Linked DNA regions of Homo sapiens: region 1 is linked to region 2. The links are contacts of gene promoters, found by promoter capture Hi-C in blood cells and fetal thymus (Javierre and others, 2016). All regions are on one chromosome and are shown on one strand. Each heading gives the region's core, a stretch centred on a gene start or on the middle of the fragment in contact. The rest is flanking DNA. Distances are from core to core; before and after follow the strand shown.

Region 1 (3,729 bases), core at 431-2,930, 1.6 Mb before region 2:
GACCTGGAAAGTTACTTAGAACCTAGTTTCTGCTCTTTCTTCTTAATATCGCATCTCTGCTTTTGTCCCTTTATTTGTATCAGTCTTCTCATTGTCTCTGTCTCTCAAGATTGGCTCTTCCTGATTCCTGATTTTCCTGGGAGATCATTAACTGTCTCGAAGCTTCTAAGGTAACCTGTTATAATTTTAGCCACATGCAGAGACTAACTGCTTGTCTCGGAATCCCAATTCCAAATTACCAGGAGAGAGAATCTGATGGCTTCAGATTGAGTTAGGGGTTATTCGTGCTCCCATCAACTTTGGCTGGAGTAGGATGTTATCTTGTAATGTCATGTAAAATAGCTATTAGGCCCCATCTTTGTGGGTTGGGAGGGCAGCCCTTAAAGAGAGTTGTTATGCCAGTACCCACAGTGGATTTCTGCTTTACTACAGCTGAGTGGTATAGCTGAAAGGAATTAGTGTAAACACAAGAGGGCCTTTTGAAAGAGATTAGGAAAGCAGTGAGGAGGTATAGAACAGTAGTTTAAATTACTGCCATGGATCTTGGGCTGTGGGAGAATAAGTAGCTTTAAGATGACATGATCTGTCTAGGGAGAGCTAGCTTTTAGTTGAGACACGGTACGGGGTGTTCAAGAAAATGGTTGAGGTGATGGGGAAGGTTATTTATGAAAAAGGAATTCCAGGGTTTACATTGGAACTCTTTGGGAAGGTGATTATTGATAAGATGAACCAAGGAAAAGGGGCTTTAAAGCAGTGAGTACAAAACCATCAGAGAAGAAAGGGGACTGAAGAGTTGAATTGTGGATGGTGTCAACTGTAGTTGACCTATGGTTGACAGGGATGAGAAGCACAGATATAATTACTTATTACATTTATGGTTGGAAAAGCTTTCATTTTTCTTTTATTTCCATCTGAGGTTGAAGATAGTTAACAGAGGCAATCTAAGAGTGACTATTTTATAGATCACATCTCTTGACATAATGAAGGTATTTTTGGTTTGAGACTTTATTTTTGTTAAGTACAGTCTTTTCTGATTCTTATATTGATATAACTATGTATTCAAGTAATGGACTCCTTGTAATTAATTCTGATAGTTCTCTTTGGGTTTATAACTGTGGCACATGTCCGATGCTGTGCTTGGCCCCTTACATTCCTAAGACACCTTCTTTATTCATCTTTTGAGTACATGTGTTACTAAGTTGGAAGAGTATGACTTACAGGTATGTTGCTTACTCCTTGAACTGATGTCTGAGATCATTTCTTTGAATACAACGATGAATGTATTTTCCTCATTATGAAAATATGCCTGTTGTACGTATATTCTTGTATACATTTTCTCTTTACACACACACACACACACACACACACACACACACACACACAGAGCTCTCTCTCACATAAATTGCCTCCATCTTCTGTAATATTTACTAAATTTCTGTCTAAAGGATCACTCATTTCTGTTGTGATAGCCATGCAGATTTTAATTTTAAGGCTAGCTGACTCTGTTTATGAAATATATTTCTATAAACATACTTTTTTAACTTTCGATTTTTCTTTATTTTCACAAACAGAAATAATTTGTTGAAAAGTGAAAATAAATGTCAGTGACTTTAATACTCAATTATAGTATGTTCACAATAATTCCAGACCGAAGACATTGCTATTTAAAATTTATTTTTAAAATTAATTATTTATTTTTTATTTTTATAAATAGAGATGGGTCTCACTGTGTTGCCCAAGCTGGTCTTGAACTCTGGGGCTCAAGCAGTCCTCCTGACTCAGCCTCCCAAAGTGCCGGGATTACTGGCATGAGTCACCACATCTGGCCACTGTTTAGAATTAGTGATCTTTCCATTATAAAGATTTAACTATTTTATGCTGAAGTGGCCATATTTTCAAGGAGTGAAACCATCTCATACATAACAATGAAGGTAGTCAGCTGTAGACTTGGAATGAGATCACATATGGGGATGATATCCTTCTAGTTAGCCTAGTACTGCTGTACTGGTCTGTGTGTACATGCGGTCCTTCAACTCAGGCCTTGCAAGGCATGCCGGCTGTGCCATGTTTGTAAATGGGGCAGAGGAAGCTACAACAATGGAAAACTAAGCTGTTTATGTTAGGTACAGCTATTAAAACAAGGTAGGGATGAGGCTAGGCCCTTAACTTCCCTAAGGCATACTTTTCTAGCTACCTTCTGCCCTGTGTCTGGCACCTACATCCTGGATGATTGTTCTCTTTTATCCATTGTGGATTTTTAAAATAAAATAAATATGAAAAGCATCTTGATCTCTTGTTTGTGAGAGGTGATGCCCTGAGATTTAGCTTCAGGAATATGTCATGGCTCATGCTTCCCATATTTCCCAGGGAGGGAAATACAGGATTTTCTAACACTGGTTAAAAATGCAAATTCAAGATTTGGAAGGGCTGATATAATGAAATAATGAGCAGTATCAGCACGTGCAAAGCTTGTTTAAAAGATTTTATTTTCTCCCCTCTTAGACCTTTTGCACATTTAGAATCTTGAAACAGTTTCTAGATCTCTAACATGAAAATGAAGATGGGTATTTTCAGGTTGCTTTCAGCTCTAGGTAGAAATAACCAGAATTGGCTTACATTAAAGAAACTGCATCTAGAAATAAATAAAAAAATTAGTGGTCTTTCTTGGAGTTATATAATTTTGAATAATATAAAAATGGTATTTTGTCAGAACTATTGTAGTAACATTAAATAGCAAATTATGTTAGCCTAAAGTTACCAAGGATGATTTGTGTATGAAGTGTATCATACTTTTTTTTATTGGACTTCTACCTTTCTTTTTACTTATTTGTTGTGGAAGAAAATAGAGGAAGTTAAAAAAGAAGTTGATGCATGGTAGGAAAGATTAAGGAAGAAGAACAATAAATGGATGACAGACATTTACTAGGTGATTGGGGTTAACTTTTATAACCAGACTCAGTAGTTGTTAGATCTGTACTGATGCTCAGTATTTATTGGCTCTGTTAAATTAAAAATATTCAGCTTTTTCAACCCCATAGAAATGTTATTAAAATATTTCTGTGGTAATATTGTGGGAAAGTGCTTGGTTGAATGTGATCATATTTTCTATGTGTTAGTCCTTTTTATTATATGTTAAAAATATAAATAGTGTTTGTGTTTTTAGTAGTAACTTAGGTTAATTTGGCCTTTGCTTTTATTTTGCCCATTTCAGAAGTTAATGTAAATTTCTTAACTTTGCATAGGAAATCCACGTTGATAAATGAAGCTAGAGACTTTCTTTGTGTAAAACTTAAAAAGAACATCTCATGCTGTTAATACCATCAGAATTAGGATGCTTAATATTGAACTCTCTAAAAAGAAGTGTTCTTTTTTAATTAGCATAAGAAACAATTTTTTAAGGATATTGAAATTATCTGAGCACTCAATAAGTAAATATGTTACAAACCTCATCTATCTGGTTGAGCTTTCTTTTAAAAATACTCTTTTTTTCCTTTAGCTGTTGTACTTAATGATAAAAATGGTTTTAAACAGAAATGCCATTGGCTAGTACAGAGAAATAATGGTATAATAGTAGAGGGATGGTACTCTTTGATCCTTGGGCTTATGAAATTCCTAAATTTTGGTTATTTAAGGAAAGCAAAGTAGAAGACAGATAAGTACAAAAAGTGCTTCAAAATTAGGGACAAAAAGTAGGACTAGTGTCTGCTGGAAGGACTCAGGATTCTTCCA
Region 2 (3,790 bases), core at 1,217-3,716:
ACACCATCTATCAAACTAAGACTTTTTAACAACCATCTATACTTTGTTAAAAAAAATTCAGATTACTGAGACCAGAAAGGGTCTTAGCAGCCAAGAATTTGTTATATATAACTATTTTAAAAACAACAACAAAAACAAAAACAAAATCTTTTCTACATACGAGAAAATTCTTCTGTATTTGTTCACATGCCAGCCCACAGAGCTGTACAAGTATGGCTGACGAATAAATTCAAGATGTGCCAGGAATAAATAAAACAGGTAGAATGCAAAACCTTAGTCATTTCTTCACACATGTATAAATTGTTTTGGGGAAAACAAATCTGTATTTTAACAAGTAAACTTTTAATCCTGAAGTTTAAGTTGACTAGCTGTTTTCAAGTACAAAACTAATACAAGTTTCAATTTTAAAAGCTGCAGAACTAATCATAAAGTCAAGGCATGGCAATAACTTACTCTGACATTACCACTCACCTAAGACAAAACCAGTTAATGTCCAGCACACTTCCATCAGAACTTTCTTAGTCTTCCCACTAGTTTCTCCACCTTCTTCTCTTACTTTTTGTTTCCACTGCAGCTGTCACTCATTTACTTACATATGATATTGACCAATCTCTAGTTATTATCACTTTGAGGATCTATTTATTTTTAAGCTGCATTTAAAAACCTCATTTACTGTGTTAAAACAGTAATGACATAAAACATACATACACATAGATTAGCAAGGATGCTGGGAACCTGGCATTACACTGCTCTTGGCTAAGTAATTTTGTGATTAATTTGTGTGCGGGCCTACCTGCAAAATAATTAATCAGGCACCCCTGGCTGTGCAATCTGCCCCACTCTTATTTCTTCTTCATTTTTCCATCACCCACTTCTTGTTCCCTTTTCCATGCATGATTAAGAAACTGTTATTTATCTTTTCTTAAAAAAAAAAATAGAGGAGAGTAGAACATTTCACAGGTGCCTGTAAAAAAGGTCTAAACTAAGGGGTATTTGCTTCATTTGTTTCTCTCTGGTAAAATGTTCTTTACCTTTTTCTTCTGTCCATCCTCCTGTGACGGAAGCGTGCAATGGAAAAAGGAAGAAGCAAAGATAAAGGACTGCCCGTTTACCCAACTCCATGAGAGTCATTTACATCTCAAAGTGTAAGAATAGTAAGCCCCTGAAATTAATAACACACAATGTGAGAGGCTGTACAGATGGTCCTACACCGAGAGTCAGGACTAGTCATTTTTGAATGATTTTCCCTTCTTTAGCAAAATTCTTGCTCAGGGAGTTATTCCAGAATACTTGACTACCTATTAATATATTGTACATGCAAATTAGACTAAGATATAAAGAATATAAGAATTACTTTGAGGGAAACACTTAATCTTCAAACATACATTTTAGAAATAAGCACCTCAATAGAAGACAAAACAAAATGACCAGAATCATAAAATGTTAACGAGCAGGAACCTTATTAATAATGAAAGCATTTCCTTTAAAAGACAGAGAATTATAAAATGGGCAAAATATTTTAATGAAAGTATAATACACTTTTTTATAGTTTCACATGCCACATTATCTTAATACTTAAGAAACTAACTTGAACTTTGGGGCAGAAAACCTTAAAAATAATTTAAATTAGTTTAAACAAGTTTGGGATAGAATCAGAGGACTTCATGGCTTGAGGGGAAACATAGCATAACCTCAGATTCTCACTTTGCTACTTATAAGCTGTGTGTCTTTAAGTGACAACTCTGATTCTCAGTTTCTACCTTTATAAAAGGAGCAATACTATCTATTGCATAGATAGGTACTAAATGTGTGCATTAATTAAGATGACACATTTTAAAAGATGCAGATGTTCAATGAATGGTAGCTACTTTCATACTCACCATTTAGTCTAACTCCCCCTTCTAAACCCCTTTCTGAGAAACCCAGACCCAAGGAGATGTCCTTACCAGGAGGGTGCGATCACCTAGGTCTCCCAATTACCAGCCCACCAATATTTCACCACCTCACCCCATCTTACTCTTGAATTGATAAAAGGCCTTTGCATGTATATTACAATATTTAAGAAAAAAAATTATAATCACTTAAGTTTTAAAAATTGATTATATATATGTTGTTTTTAAGGTAAAACATACTTTCTAAAAAAGTATCTTTCCTGCCGGGCAGGGTGGCTCACGCCTGCAATCCCAGCACTCTGGGAGGCCGAAGCGGGTAGATTGCTTGAGGTCAGGATCACTTGAGGTCAGGAGTTTGAAACTAGCGTAGCCAATATGGTGAAACCCCGTCTCTACTAAAAATACAAAAATTAGCTGGGTGTGGTGGTGCGGGCCTGTAATCCCAGCTCCTCGGGAGGCTGAGGCAGAATAATCGCCTGAACCCAGGAGGTGAAGGTTGCAGTGAGCCGAGATCGTGCCACTGCACTCCAGCCTGGGCGACAGAGCGAAACTCTGTCTAAAAACAAAACAAGAGGGGAGGAGCCAAGATGGCTGAATAGGAACAGCTCCGGTCTACAGCTCCCAGAGTGAGCAACGCAGAAGATGGGTGATTTCTGCATTTCCAGTCGAGGTACCGGGTTCATCTCACTAGGGAGTGCCAGACACTGGGCGCAGGTAAGTGGGTGCGCGCACCATGTGAGAGCCGAAGCAGGGCGAGGCATTGCCTCACTCGGGAAGTGCAAGGGGTCAGGGAGTTCCCTCTCCTAGTCAAAGAAAAGGGTGACAGACGGCACATGGAAAATCGGGTCACTCCCACCCGAATCCTGCGCTTTTCCGACGGGCTTAAAAAATGGCGCACCACGAGATTATATCCCGCACGTGGTTCGGAGGGTCCTACGCCCACGGAGTCTGGCTGATTGCTAGCACAGCAGTCTGAGATCAAACTGCAAGGCGGCAGTGAGGCTGGGGGAGGGGCGCCCGCCATTGCCCAGGCTTGCTTAGGTAAACAAAGCAGCTGGGAAGCTCGAACTGGGTGGAGCCCACCACAGCTCAAGGAGGCCTGCCTGCCTCTGTAGGCTCCACCTCTGGGGGCAGGGCACAGACAAACAAAAAGACAGCAGTATCCTCTGCAGACTTAAATGTCCCTGTCTGACAGCTTTGAAGAGAGCAGTGGTTCTCCCAGCACGCAGCTGGAGATCTGAGAACAGGCAGACTGCCTCCTCAAGTGGGTCCCTGACCCCTGACCCCCGAGCAGCCTAACTGGGAGGCAGCCTCCAGCAGGGGCAGACTGATACCTCACACGGCCGGGTACTCCAACAGACCTGAAGCTTACGGTCCTGTCTGTTAGAAGGAAAACTAACAAACAGAAAGGACATCCACACCAAAAACCCATCTGTACATCACCATCAACAAAGACAAAAAGTAGATAAAACCACAAAGATGGGGAAAAAACAGAGCAGAAAAACTGGAAACTCTAAAAAGCAGAGTGCCTCTCCTCCTCCAAAGGAACGCAGTTCCTCACGAGCAACGGAACAAAGTTGGACGGAGAATGACTTTGACGAGCTGAGAGAAGGCTTCACACGATCAAATTATTCCGAGCTACGGGAGGAAATTCAAACCAAAGGCAAAGAAGTTGAAAACTTTGAAAAAAGTTTAGAAGAATGTATAACTAGAATAACCAATACTGAGAAGTGCTTAAAGGAGCTGATGGAGCTGAAAACCAAGGCTCAAGAACTACGTGAAGAATGCAGAAGCCTCAGGAGCTGATGCGATCAACTGGAAGAAAGGGTATCAGTGATGGAAGATGAAGTGAATGAAATGAAGCGAGAAGGGAAGTTTAGAGAAAAAAGAATAAAAAG

What was found. The method cuts DNA at HindIII sites, captures the fragments that hold promoters and counts their contacts. A CHiCAGO score of 5 or more calls a contact.
Region 1: a fragment that was not itself captured here is called in contact with the fragment with the promoter of GJB7 in region 2 in 1 of 17 cell types (total B cells); the score reaches 6.2 in total B cells.

What each region holds. Positions count from the first base shown.
Region 1 is chr6:88,892,884-88,896,612 of GRCh38, reverse strand. All of the region lies in intron 6 of RNGTT (RNA guanylyltransferase and 5'-phosphatase), which reads left to right. Among named protein-coding and RNA genes, the nearest start is that of RNGTT, 69 kb to the left of the region's middle. The HindIII fragment of the contact is 1,581 bases long and covers 890-2,470 here.
Region 2 is chr6:87,327,954-87,331,743 of GRCh38, reverse strand. GJB7 (gap junction protein beta 7) reads left to right here and starts at 2,466. Exons shown (of 3, transcript NM_198568.3): 1 at 2,466-2,606. SMIM8 (small integral membrane protein 8) reads right to left here. Exons shown (of 4, transcript NM_001042493.3): 2 at 1,032-1,052. RefSeq lists enhancers at 2,037-2,721, 2,722-3,408. The HindIII fragment of the contact is 5,500 bases long and covers 1-3,261 here.